3 separate regions of the Homo sapiens genome follow, and all the other regions are linked to region 1. The links are contacts of gene promoters, found by promoter capture Hi-C in blood cells and fetal thymus (Javierre and others, 2016). All regions are on one chromosome and are shown on one strand. Each heading gives the region's core, a stretch centred on a gene start or on the middle of the fragment in contact. The rest is flanking DNA. Distances are from core to core; before and after follow the strand shown. Region 1 holds the start of LCORL (ligand dependent nuclear receptor corepressor like). Region 2 holds the start of PACRGL (parkin coregulated like). Region 3 overlaps FAM200B (family with sequence similarity 200 member B).

Region 1 (4,682 bases), core at 1,576-4,075:
ATAATATGGCTTTTTTATAAATATGTTTATAAAGTAATGAATGTAAGGCACATTAATAGCAAAAGGTAATTATCCAAACTCCATTTAATCCCAATTCACACTATAAATAAGTGCTTAACACCTAAGATGCTAAAAAAAGCCCAATCGACAAGTGTATACTCTGTTTAAATGGATGTTATTGTTTATTTTAAAATAACAATGGGATTCGAGACCAGCCTGGCCAACATGGTGAAACCTAGTCTCTACTAAAAATACTAAAATTATCTGGGCGTGGTGGCGGACGCCTGTAATCCCAACTATTCGGGAGGCTCAGGCAGGAGAATCGCTTGAATCCAGGAGGCGGAGGTTGCAGTGAGCTGAGATAGCACCGCTACACTCCAGCCTGGGCGACAGTAAGACTCCATCTCAATAAATAAATAAATAACAAAGAATATGAGACAGGTTTTAATAGGGCTTAATTAGGATGGAGACTGTGGGAAACAATTCTCAAATATAGTTAGAAGCCAGGGACAAAATTTCTTTTCACATACGATACAATGTAATCACATATTGCAATAAAAGTGTAATACAGTAGTAACTTTCAATGTCTTCCAATTTTACTTGAATATACAAGTAGGTAAGGCAAAAAGATATTCTAGTCCCCTTTTCCATCAAATCCAATGAATTGTGTTTCATTTAAAGTTTGACTATTTTTCAAGTCTATCTATTTTTATGATGCAAAGCTATACTTAATGTATCTAAATAAGCAAGAAGACCAGAAAAAAAAACCAACCAAAATATTCCAAAACATAAAAAGACATCCTCAAATCACTTTGTGCCTTGACAAAACTTAACAGTAATATCATAAGCCAGTGTTGCAATGCTGTCATCCTACCTAATTCTACCTAAATGAGCTCAGTAATTTCTAAATTGGTTTCCAGAAGAGATCTTTACATAAGCAATTATCAAAAACAGCCCATTTTGTATTCAAGAAGCACAAACAACAATATTTAGTTTTTTAAACAATTTATATAAAGAATACCTAGAGGTTTTTTTTTACACTTCATAAACTAAAATCACTTACGAATACTTGACTAAAGCTATTTCTCATCATCTTTCCTTAGAGAAGACCAAAATACATTTTTCGTAAGGGCAAAACAAAAGCAGTAAATTACTTAAACATCACTTAAATGCCCCCTAAAGTAACCTTCCTTTCTCATACATTTTCCTATATTCATCGCGTTCTGCGGTACACATTTCTGAACTGAAATTGTATTAAGTTTAACCTAATACGATCTCTTCTCTACTAGTCAAAAAAAGATCTTAAGACGTTAACCAAATACATGGGAGGCGGGGTCGGGGGTGCGAGGTGGTGCCAGAGCAGATGGAAACAAGGTAAGAGAGTTGTTTTCTTAAGACACTAGGGTTACTCCCCAACTCCAAATGCCAAGATTCACTCGCCAGTAGAGCAAGCTGCTGCCACTATCCACTGCTTACACAATACAACCTTCCTTTCTACCTCTTCCCCTACACTCCCACCCATAACCCCCTTCCAAAACAAACACCCACAACGCGCCCCATTCCATAATCCGTGTTCGCCCCTCTAAGCCCACTAAACCAACCTGCTGGATAACAGCTCTATGCATTCGTCTTAGGCAAAAAAAGAAAAAAAAAAAAGCGACTGCAGCAAGGTCGGGAGTCCCACCATTCCTGTCACCCTAAACAATCCACAGGGTGAGAGCCCCAAGCCCAGAAGTTTGAGGCAAAACGATTCAGATCCAACCAAAAAGAGGGAATTGCAGTTGAATGGGGATGGGAGGTGGGGAGGGCGATGCGTATGCGTGTATATGTGTGTGTGTGTGTAAGGAAGAGTCCATCACATGACAGTGAAAGAGGACCAGAGTCGTCGGGGCGTCCGCAAGCAGACGGGGGGGAGGGTGTCGTTGCCGTGGCAACACCCCCCATCCGTCCAGACTTCCAAAGAGGGAGGAAGAACTTCAAATCCCAACCGTCAGCGCTCAAGCGGCTCCTTCTTAAAGGGGTACACACAGCGCCGCCGCCGAGCGCGAGAGGGCAGAGTTGGGCGCCCCCCGCCCCTCGGACGACGCCCCCGCCGCCCCTCGCCCCCAGCCGGCCCATCAGCGGCCCCCGCCCTGCGAGTGCCCGTGGGTCTCCAGGTCCAGGTCCCCGGGAACTGGCCGCGTCTGCTCACCCGGCCCCCGGCGGCGACAAGGGGGTGTGTGTGCGCTCGGCGGGGGCGCGGACCAGCCCGCCTTCCTCCGGCCGCCCTGCCCGCCGGCTCTCCTCCGCCAGGGCGCCGACCCACCGGGCCGCTTCCTCCGTCCTGTCAGGGTGGACGGCGGGCGACGGCGGGCAGCGACGGGCGCCGAGGAGTTTCGGGGAGAGAGCGAGCGGGCGGCTTCCGCGGGGGCTCAGCAAGCGGGTCCAAACTAACAGTTCCCGGGGAGCCCAAGAGCTGGGAAGGCGAAGGAGCGCGGACCGCGCCGGGCCAGCAGCCCGCAAGACAAAAGGCGAGCGCCGGGGCCGCCGCGCCGCGCCGCTCCCATCTCGCTCCCCCACCGAACTAACCCGAACGGGAGATTCAACTAAACCCCTCAGCCACAAACTCCTCGGGCTGCGACAGCGGTCGCCGCGCGGAGCCCGGGGCCCCGGCCCGCGTCTCTCTTACCTACACAGTGCATGAGGCGGTGGCGCCAAGAGTCGAGTTCCCGCCGGAATCCTCTTCTCTCCGCCGCGCACCGAGGGCTCCGGCACTGAGCGGCGGCGGCGGCGGCGGCAGCAGCGGCGGCGGCAGCGGCCATTCTCTCTCTTCCCTTGTCCATCTGCGTCCCGCGTCACGCGCCCTCATTTACATACGAGCAGCGCAGGCACGAGGCAGGGGCGCGAGCCCTCGGCGCGAGCCCCGGAGCGCGCGCCCCCCGGAGGGGGGTTGATTGACACGTGTCACTACCTTCCCTCTGCCCTGCCCTCCCCCTCCCACCGCTCCCTCAGGGAGAGGCGGGGAGGGAGCCAGAGGAGAAGGAAGCAACCTGCCGCTTCCGCTGACCCCGCCTCCCCACCCACTACCCTCCTCCCCCTCCCGCTGGAGTTTACTCAGGCGAGCCATACCGCTCCCGCCGCCCGCGAAAACCCTGAGCGGGAGCGAGAGACCCGGAGCCCAGCCAGGAACCGGCGTGCTAGTGGAGCGGACTAGCAACGCCTACTTTCTGCCTTCACTACGGGACTCCGACAGTCCGGAGACTTCACTTCCCAGGCTCCATTTCGCCAGGATCCCGAAGCTGAACTTGGCGCCGTGGCGCGTTGCTTGCCGGTCATTGTAGTCCAGAAGAAAGGATTTTTTTTGTTTGTTTGTTTTTCTTCCCCCCCGCACTTGGGTATGCAGGCTGGCCTGCAACTTCTCTGCGCCGCGCCGCTGGGGGGCTGAGTCTGTCGCTCCCTGCGCCCGGAACCATGCGCTGCCCGGTGGCCGGGTCTGACCCGACTGCTTTAGCTTCCTTAGGCTCCGCGATAGAAGGGTGGTGGAAGCCGCAAGAGTTGTCGGCTCCTTGTGGGTTCAGGCTGCGCTTTGCGTTTTAAGTGCTGGAAACTTTCCGGGGTCGCTGTCTTCCTGTCACTCCGCAGGGAAAGGGCAAGCCGGTCATTCGGCTACATCTGGAATAACTGCCAAACGTCCAGAGAGAGATCCCGGAGTGACTTCGGTATTCAAGGCGAAGAGATCTCGGAAAGCCAGAATATTTGCAAGGACTAGGAAAAAGATGCGGGTTTTTTTCACTGAAAATTACTTGCAGGGGACTGGGTGTAGCCGGCTGAAAACTGCAGAAGGAAAATTTTCTTTATAAGCTCCTGGAGGGCAGCGACCCACTGAGATCTCTGTACCGTGACATCTGTCACTCGCTAGACCCTAGTACAGTGCGTGACACGGGATTAAGCACTTTACAAAGGTTAATGGAATGAATTCTACCACGTGCTAGAGAAAATAACTTCTTCAGAGAGAGCTAGAGAGGAATCTTACGTTTAAATACAGACTCCAATCACAGTTTTTACTTTTGCACCAGAGCGATTGTGCGTTTGTTTCCGTATAAGTGCAGTTTATCAAGCCGAAGCTAAGCTACCCAACGTTTGCTAAGAAGTACTGTGTATTTCTGGAAATTTATTCACAAGTCTGTGGGAAATATGTTTAATTCTTCTTGGAAATCTCATAAACTCTGAATTCAGTACCACCTTCCCTGTTTTGTGGCTTATCCTTATCCACCTTCTTTTTCTTCCTATGAGAAAGTATTTCTTTGCTCATTATGACTTCAGTAGTGAAGATGTAATTTTGCATCTTCATAAGTTAAAAATAATAAAGTTTGAACGCATAATCACCTTTTCTAGAACGGTCACAATTGGAGTGCAGGTGAAATCACTAGTGAAGGTGATTTTGGAATTGTCAGTGGATGGTTTTAGTTAACCACTTCCACTCACAATTGCCACGATGATCAGCCTTTGCAGTTTTCCTGATCACTTTTATAGTAATCTACATTAGTTAGGATGGGAAAAATTATGGTGCAGTAATAAATGATCCAAGAATCTTAGTGGCTTAAAACAACAACAAAAAACTATTTCCTGATTATCTACATGTTCATCTCTGGGTGGCAGGAGGAGGGGGCTTCATTCCATGTGGTCTCACTAAGCAACTGGAT
Region 2 (4,682 bases), core at 1,648-4,147, 2.7 Mb after region 1:
CACTGCTTAATTTGTTCCATGTGCAAGCGGACACTCAATGACTTTATAATGATGATGTCTAACATTTCCTGACAAAGTGTGCTTTGTCAAATTGTACAAATTTCTTGTATCACATTTCTCAATGATAGGACTTGGGAATAATCATTGGGAATGATTGCTTTGTCTGTAATTTGTACAAAAAGGCAGAGATTTTCTTTACAAGAATTAAGACAATATTTTCTTAAAAATGCTTGGTGACTTAAATGTAAGTAAATAAATAATGAATAATTTTTTCACAAGTCAATGAGAACCAGCACAATGAGAAAAAAAATCGTCCTGAGTGGTTTACTTTGGTTAGATTTATTACCTAACTCATAAGGTTATATAATATGGAGTAACAAAAATAGGGCAATTTGAAGAAATTTTATTTATAAAGGTACAGGGTACCACACAGACAGTGCAGTAACCTAGAGATAGTAGCCTCTGAGATTTTGTGCCTAGAACTGAAGTTTGCCATTTAGAAAGTTTTTTAGTCTATTTGGGCTGCTATAGTGAAATACCGTACATTGAGTAGCTTATAAACAACAGAAATTGATTTCTCATGGTTCTGGAGGCTGGAAAGTCCACATCGAAGTATCAACAGATTCAGTGTCTGGTAAGGGACTACTTTCTGGTTCACAGATGAAATTGTTTCACTGTGTCCTCACATAGTGGAAGGAGTGAGTGTTCTCTCTCAGGCCTCTATTATTAGGGCACTAATTCCATTCACGAGTGTTCCAACCCTATGACTTCATCGCCACCCAAAAGCCCCACCTCCAAATACCATCACCTTGGGAGTTAAAATTTCAATCTATGAATTTTGGAGGAACAGAAACAATCAGACTATAGCAGAAAGATGTGATCTTCACTTATGGGTATGACCAGCTTTAGGGAACCCCCTAAGGATAGGAGCAGGAGAATGAATACTCTGACTTCACTCTCCTCTAATTCTCTAATCTCCTATTAGTGTTCTTCAGTAGCCAAACCCAATCAGAAACCAGAGGGCACTGGAGCCTGGGTGATATAGTTTATGCTGATCAGCATCCCAGAGCAAATAACAGGACAAAGGGAAGAGTGTACCTATATGAGAGCAAACAGAAAATATATGGCATATTCTGTCTTTTCAGAATCATTTACTATATTGCTAGGCAAATAGGTCACCTTTTTTCCCTCATCCCATTCTCTCTTAAATAGAAAATTAAACCTTAAAACCTGAATAGAAGACAAAAGTCCACAATCAGTGCTCTGTTTCTCACATATTGTGAGCTTTCCTAGAAGGTATTACTCCTATCGCCCAACTCAGCGTCTACATATGCTGATGGCTCAAAAATCCATAGCTATGCCCAGTTCTCTTTCCTGCCCTCTAGATGAGCAGATCCAACAGCATGCTAGTTAGCTCCCCCTGGATGCCTCACAGGCTTGTCAAACCAGTGTATTCAAGAAAGCACCCACCACTTATTGCATAATATCCTGATAGAGTTGCAATGCCAAGGAGCATGTTTTCTGTTCATTTTCTAAAATGATGACAGAAAGTTTAGAAGAGGCTGTTTTAACTGTGATTAGGAGAAGCTTATACTAATTGTTATTATAAAGATCTGAAAAATCCGTGTCATCGTCCATGGTTCATACACCAACACATAGCATGAGACTTTTGCCACTTACGATGTCCTCCACGTTAGTCTTAATTTGCTTTCACCTGAATAATTGCACTAGCTAATACTTATTGAGTACTTCCTATGTGTCAGGTATTCAATTGTCCTCTTAAATTTAAGTCTCGCAATAACCCAATAATGAAGAGGAAATTGAGGCTTGTAGGAGTCGTCATCCACAAGGACTCATAGCTGATAAGGGGTGGTGAGTTTTAGATAGCTTAACTCCAGAACACATATGCTTGTCATTCCTCTGCGATACTGAATACAAATCATTCTTATAGTCCAGGGAGGAGGGGTTAAAAGGTCACGAACTAGGAGCTCTACTGAGTCTGACACTGGAGATGCTAGGAGTAAGGAAAATATAATAAGTCTTGAGGAAGCTGGAGATGAGAGATTATAAAGTAAAAGTAGCTGAAGATACAGGATATAAGATTTTTTTTTTTAAAAATTTCTTTTTCCTTTTAAAAACGTTAGTTAAGCATGCATTGCGCTAGGCATTGGGGATAGAAAAGCAATAAAGACAATTTCAGTCTAGTGAGAAAGATAGGTAAATACATTATAATAAATTTTAAAACTTAGATTTGTATGCAAGGTTCACAGAACATTAGAGAAATTAGACATAGACAGAATTTATTAATTCATTTTATTCATTCAGAAGACATTAGTTGAATACCCACTGCATTATGCTTGAAGCTGGAGAAATAAAAAGGGCAAAGTTAAAATCCTTATCCTGAGGAAACTCACAATCTAATGAAGATGCTTCTGGGGTGCTGGTCAAGTAGCAAGGATGGAGCTACAGGAGCACAGAAGGATTACACAGCCTCGAGTGCTCAGACAATGCCAATTTAGTGTTACCTAAGCAAAAAGTTAGGGCTTTGGGTTGGCAACAGTAGAGGATGCTAAAGAGGAGTGCAGTGGACAGGTCCAAAGGGCTTGGACTTAACTATGACAACCCAAATTGTTGCTGGTGGAATGCAATACAAGGGAATATGCATTTTCCTGCAGCATCAGTTTTGTTATGATGTGGAGCATAAAATCGTGCTTTTCACTATTAAATATTTTTACTATTAAAAATAATGTAGAGCACAAAATCGTGCTTTTTACTATTTAAATGCGGATATACTGTGAAGAATGCAATAGCATATGAGATTCATAAAATACGACAGGAAACGAATTTCCACAGCTAGGCTTATGATTTAGCCAGATAGAACAGGAAACTACAAGAAAATCCCACAGCTGGGCATGCAGATGGCTTCGGCTCTCACCCCTGAAGACTCGGGGGGAGGAGTTCACAGTCTTCAGTTCTCCGAGTATTGAGGGTAAGATAGCTGAGGAACAATGAGTATTAAGTGTGCGAGAAAAGCGTTTAGGAGTTAAGCACATGGACTGAAGAGAGGCTAGGGCGCAGGCGACTGGGAACCCGTCATCGTCCCTCTGCTCTCCGGACCTCTTATTCGAAAAACATCCTCCACCACGTGCCCCTTTGTCGCCAGAGACAGCGCCTGCAGTGCGTGAGCTGCCCCCTGAACTCCTGGCGCCTGGTTGCCTGGGCAACCCTCTTCTGGGGCGCCTCCGCGACCTCTTACCATTGGTTTAGACGACGCAGCGTGCGTCTGACGTCATTGCGCGGCGCGACCAGGTTCAGGGGCGGGCCGCGCGGAGCCTCATTTCCCCAAACGCAGGCGCTCGGTGGCGGTAGCCGCGGTTGTTGGCCGACCGAGTGCCGGTCATAAGCCCCCCCCGGTGGGGGGCAGCTGGTGTGCGGATCGCGGCGGGAGAGAGGCGCGGTAGGAACGGGTCCCCGGAGCCGTGAACCGCGGGTACAGGTGTCCTGTCTGCGCTCTCTGCCAAGCCGGCTTGCTTCCTGATCTGTTGCTAGGGCCGCTGGACCCCGTTGCTAAGGACCCTTGAGATCGTGAGCGCTTGGAGTGTACCCCTCCTTTCCTGGGGTAGAGGGTCAGTCGAGAGTAGCCTTCGTTAACCTTAATTGAAACTGGTAAACTCCTCCCTCGGCCCCTTTAAAAAATCTCTGTTTTTTCTTTATTTTTTTTCTGTGTCTTCCTCTTTTGCTGACTTTGATAGCATCCTGGCTCTGGACTGGTCTTTAAGTATCTAGAAGTGAGTGTAGGAGGGGTGGCTGGGAAGGTGGAAAATAGATTCTAAGACCCCTAAGCAGATTGTGCGACCCTAATACTGGCCCTTTGAATTTACTTTCTGGTAAAAAAGGGACTGGGATAAGTGACTATTGGGCTCTGGGTCTTTTAGAATTTGACAGAGCTTTACAAATGGAACATGGTTTCTTTAGTGGGGCTCTTACTTACACGTTTGGAACTTTCTAGACCTGGATTAGAAAGCAGGGCTCTGCTGACTGAGAATTGTTTTAGTTCAGTGGTCTTAAAGCTGAGTACGGGAGAAAGTACATACAGGGAAAGAAATAGGCTATATCAGCTGCCCAAACAATGATAGAAAGTACACTTTCCTACCATTGACACAGATACCGGCAGTCCCTTGTAGATAGATGACCTGTAGCAACCAAGGAAGCTTTAAGGGGAATGTGTGGGCTTCATAGGGTGGTTTGTTTGCTTTCTGATATTGTGACATAGTTTAGGTGTTCGAAGTTAAGTGGATTTATGGATTCTAATATCTATAATTAGAATGTTTATCTTGTTTTGTAAAAGAATGAGCGGTGACCTTGATAATATTTGTAACACAAAATAGTTCTTACAGGTTCGCTTCTCCCCATCACTGCCCCTTTACACCATCCTCTACATGTTATTTAATGAAAAACCACTTGAAAGGGTTACCAAGGATAAGATTTTTAAAGCTTGCTTTCACAAACAACTCATGCTCCAGGCTTGTCAGTGGCATGCTTCCAGGTGGATATTATTTTAAAAAATTGACTACATTTCCCGTCGTCCCTTGGTGTCCGTGGAGAATTGGCTCCAGGACTCCCTCCCTCCCCCCAGTCTCTTTCAGATACCCAAATCCACCCATGCCAAAGTCCTCCAGTCT
Region 3 (4,682 bases), core at 682-3,181, 2.3 Mb before region 1:
GTATGACAGATTTCCAGTGCCTTCAGGAAGGTATCCAGCCTTAAAGATGCTTTTTTTAAATAGACGATTTTAGACAGAAAAAAGGTAGAAACAAAACTATAACACATGTGTACTCACCACTGAATTGGAGAAATAAATGATTATATAAGTGATTGAAGTCCTTTGTCAGCTCTACCCCGTCTCATTCTCTTTCCTTTTGCCTAAGGAAACCACTCTCCTAACCACCTTTATGCAATCTGTAATGTGTACATCTTTTTGCAGCTAGCTTGTTTTACATAATGTTTTTGAGATTTGTCAGTGTTGTGTAACTCCACCTTATTCATCTTAATAGCTGAACAGATATTCTGTTATTTTAATATGTCACTGTTCATTGTTTAGTATCTCCAGTGCCTGACATACTTTAGGCACTGTAGGTAGCTAAATGTTAGTTGAATGCATGGCTGCTGTAGCATTTGAACTAAGTAGAAAAGAATAAATAGGACTTCATGTGACCCAACAAGAGTATTCCAGGCAAAAGGAATACTAGCCAAAAGCAGAGACATGAAAGTGCATGAACTATTTCAAGAATTTCCATACTTTTAGTACTGAAATGTAGAATGTATGGAGATCATGTGATGAAGGAGAAACCTGGAAAGATGAGGCTTAAGCTTAAAGGATATTATCCTGAAGAGCTTACACAAGCTCGGCGCCATTAAATGCTTTTCCAGTTATGAGGAAGCTGATTAGAGCTGTATTTTCAGAAGATGATACAGCGCACTAGAGATATATCTTAGGATATAAAAGATTAGTGACGGGGAATTTTAGACTATCAAGCATTGTAACAATAACAATCATTGCATTAAGCAAGTAAGACAACCAGCCAGACTAAAAATCCAAAAACATTTTCCTAGTCCATCATATTATCACATTCCTTAACAATTATTAATATTTCATATTTTCTTCTGACAAACTTGCAACATTTTCTACTTCGGCCTCTTACTTAGATGATACCTCACATCCTATTGAGTTAAAAAAAAACTTCCCCATGCTTTCATCACCACATCTACCAGACCTGTTCCCTAATATACTGCCACTGCTGTTACTATAGATGAACTGTCTGATTTAGGAGGGAGAGTAAACCCTTTAAAAATATCTTTTTAATACAATAGTAACTGAACTAGTGTTACAAACTTTCAAGGGGGGATTGAAACGTGAATAGTAAGAATATGAAAGAATGGAATAGTTAAAAGACAATTGCTTCTAAGAGATAAATGATCCATATATAGTAATATAAAAATAAGATACTTTTTTAATGTATATTTCTTTTTTTCAGGTAGATTTAGGTTCTAAGCTTTAAAAGCTAAATCTAAATTTACATGTATGTTTTTATAGGATCATTGTTTCTACTATTTCTTAACATAAGCAGTTTATTATGAAGTAGAATCTTTAACAATCCTGTTTTAAATAATATGTTTTATTAGCCTTCGTCTTACATATTTCCCAGTTGTCCAAATATAGTTGGATAACTTATTTGTTACTGACTGTGATAAAAATAGAGTGTACATTGTACAGTTTACTACAGGTGTCATTAATTTTCTCATTCTCTCATATGCATTGAGTAACTACCATACAGCAAGCACTATTCTAGGAACAGGTAGATAAGATTTATTAGTGGAAAATCACTTACCTAAAACCATATCATATAACCGTGTTAATGCACCTTGGTGTATGAGAAACTTTCAACTACAAATATTTGATTACCTTAATTGCAATTCTTAAGGGAGGCTAAGTAGATGGATAGCTGAATAAAGTTATTACTTGGAAATGTTGCCATGTAGCCGCAGGAGCCAATTTCAGTGCACACATCTTAAGCATCAGTGTACACATTTATAGGTCTTTGGTGTTTGGGCCAGCAGAACCCACCTGGGTTATGGAATCACACTGGTGTACTTGATCGTGTTCGGGTATGAACATGCTCTGATTTACATTGAGTACTAATTGAGCATGTCTATTTAAATTAAAGTTCCAGAATTTATGTTTAGGCCAGAACCTCAGGTTTGAACTTCTCCCCTAAAATTCCTCTGGCTTCTCATTAAAGCCGCTTTCGGAGATATAAGTAAAGAAAGTCAAACAAAAGACTTTGTAGCATGTTTTGTTTAACATGTTTTGTTTAGCACTGTTTTTCTTGAGCTATATATGATAAATATCTAGGGAGAGGTGGCAGAAGGACAAAATTGTAGTAGTTTGAGGTTTCTTGGGGGAAAGTTGAAGCATTAAAACATGTTAGCATCCTTATATGAACTTTTAACTATGGAAGGAAGAGTCAGTATTCCCTTTCAGGCAGCTGTTTATCTGGCTTAGACTGCCTCAAGGCTGTGTATTGCCCTTCAGCTTTTCTTATGCATTAGAAAGAGATCTAGATGCATTTGCCTTTAGCAGTGTAGTTCTGAATACATTGATGACCACCCACTGTGCTGGGACATGCAAGAGGTATGTACCATAAACTCTTTAGTCCTGCTAATGTCCTCGACAGAGGACATAAAACCTCCTAAGAAAAGCTTTGTCTCTTTCCAGCCAAGGTTAACTATTTGTAACATGTCATCTTTCAAGGAAGCATCTAACCAAGATTAAGTCAAAGGCATCTACCAGGTCCTGAATTCTCTCCCAGATGCACACCTTTTAAGGTACAATCAGGTACCATATGTAATCTGTAGCTATTTAACCATCGTTAAAGCATTTAGGACTTTGATTTCCTAGAAGAAGTCATGGTCTGCAAAATAATTGTATTAAAAGGTATAAAACCTGATCAGGAAAAAGAGGTTTAGGGCCAAACTATACAACTTTGTAACTAGACCAATAACACAAAATAATAGTGTTTTAAAATGTACCCAGGATTTATTTTAATCAGATATGGTAAGATATGCAGATGTGAAAATGATTGTCATGAAAGAAGAAATTTTTATACTCATGGATCCCTAGAAACAGGAAGCATGGCACCTTACACCATGCAAGGGTGCCATACCTAGAAGCAGCAGGGTCAATGGGGAGAGGAAGTACAAGGAAACTGCAGGAAAGCCTTTATTTGGTTTTCTGAGGAAGGAATGGGCAAAACTGGATAAGCAGGCTTGAACAGGTTTAAAATTGGCTAGTTGAAATAATTTTGGCCGACTTCGGGCGTAGGGGATATCCCTAGTTGCCTGGTAGCTGGTCTGGAGTGATTAGGATAGGGCAATATTGGCCAGGAGTATAAGAACCCAAGATGTCTGTGTTGGGAGTTGGGGGATTCTGGATTGGTTAGTTTGCATAGGAATTAGCTAACCCTGGGAGAGGTAGTACCTCTCCAGTCATCAAGGACCCACCTAGATACCAAATGATTAACAATACAAAAATAAGAAAGTACAATTAATACAAACAGTCATAATAAAGATACAGTATTAACACAGTTAAGACGTGGAAATTTTAATAAATAAACACTACAGTAAATGTAGGACTGCACCCCTCCCAAAAAATTTGAGATAATTTGATGGAAAGGTGTGTAAGGAAGGGTTGAAACTACTGTTATGGTCATAAGACTGAAATATACTATGATCCAAGAGAGCAGTGCAGCACTACCAAGGCAGGCATGACCAAGATAGGTGCGGCCAAGCAAAAAGGAAGTATGTATGGTGAATAAGCTATACTCCTTCATGGCTTGCTGTATTCTGTTTTGTTAATATACTTTCCAAGTCCTGATGCCAACTTCTGGGTTTTACTGTCACTATTTTTCTATTTACTAATCTCAGTTGAAGTGGTTTGCCTTACAGAAATAGGCCTAAGCCAATATAAGATAGTGATAAAGAGAGCTATAGACTGTTTGCCTCACCATCTATGATCTTGGATATCATAAAGGCCCCCATAGCTGGCAGTAATACTACTTTGTACTGTGATGCTTTAATGTCTTATCTCTGGTCTTATTCCCAGGTCAAGGATGCATTCCAGGAAAGTTCTATAAAAATATACCATCAACTCCAACCTGATATTTGACCTAGCCATGGAAAACCTCATTGGCTCCTCACTGGATCAGACCATAAAAATGATCCAGGAATGAAAATCTAAGATAAATTCCCACCACTTCAAGATGTTCTTATACAAGTCAACAGTCTAGCAGATCAGCCAGTCTCTTTCATCATCAAGCAGACATACTCAAGGTACCAACACAGCAAAGGCACAAAATGTCTCTATATCAGTATTTTTCATGGTATATGTGAGACCCATTAGTGAGGCATGAAATCAATTCTGTGAGTCACAATGAACATTTGTCTAAAAAACAAAATAAAATGTAAAATACCAAAGTGTTTTGCATGAATCCTTTGCCTGAATTGTGCACATTGCAAGGAATGCTGAGGTCAATTTCAATATGCGAGAGGGGTATTTGATGGAGGAGATATGATGAATAGAATGTATATTGGCTAAGAAATGGTTTTCAGTCATTGATTCCTGGGTGTCTTGCTTGATTTTCATAATAGCACGGTTAATGTTCTATAGTCAAGTTTTATATTACAATTACTTGCAACTAGTTGTGAAGTCTGAAATATTCGATTCAATTGCAAACTTTGAGTGTAGTTTTTGAAAAGATGTTATTTAGACTGTATATTTTTTTCTTCTTTTTTGAGTTAGTGCCAATTATAACATTTTAATCAAACTGGAACAAATTGCTATTAAAA

What was found. Contacts are between HindIII fragments. The CHiCAGO score rates a contact against its expected background, and 5 or more counts as called.
Region 2: a contact is called between a fragment that was not itself captured here and the fragment with the promoter of LCORL in region 1, in 8 of 17 cell types (naive CD8 T cells, non-activated CD4 T cells, total CD4 T cells and 5 more). The highest score is 17.1, in naive CD8 T cells.
Region 3: a contact is called between a fragment that was not itself captured here and the fragment with the promoter of LCORL in region 1, in 1 of 17 cell types (naive CD8 T cells). The highest score is 5.2, in naive CD8 T cells.

What each region holds. Positions count from the first base shown.
Region 1 is chr4:18,018,930-18,023,611 of GRCh38, forward strand. It overlaps LCORL (ligand dependent nuclear receptor corepressor like), which reads right to left and starts at 2,826. Exons shown (of 8, transcript NM_001394446.1): 1 at 2,669-2,826. The coding sequence starts at 2,822. RefSeq lists silencers at 2,038-2,367, 2,688-3,147 and an enhancer at 3,198-3,457. The HindIII fragment of the contact is 12,000 bases long and covers 1-4,682 here.
Region 2 is chr4:20,697,122-20,701,803 of GRCh38, forward strand. It overlaps PACRGL (parkin coregulated like), which reads left to right and starts at 3,337. Exons shown (of 9, transcript NM_001258345.3): 1 at 3,337-3,666. RefSeq lists an enhancer at 3,450-3,569. The HindIII fragment of the contact is 2,624 bases long and covers 1,586-4,209 here.
Region 3 is chr4:15,682,297-15,686,978 of GRCh38, forward strand. FAM200B (family with sequence similarity 200 member B) reads left to right here. Exons shown (of 2, transcript NM_001145191.2): 2 at 3,940-4,682. The coding sequence starts at 4,682. Among named protein-coding and RNA genes, the nearest start is that of FAM200B, 2.8 kb to the left of the region's middle. The HindIII fragment of the contact is 1,207 bases long and covers 1,329-2,535 here.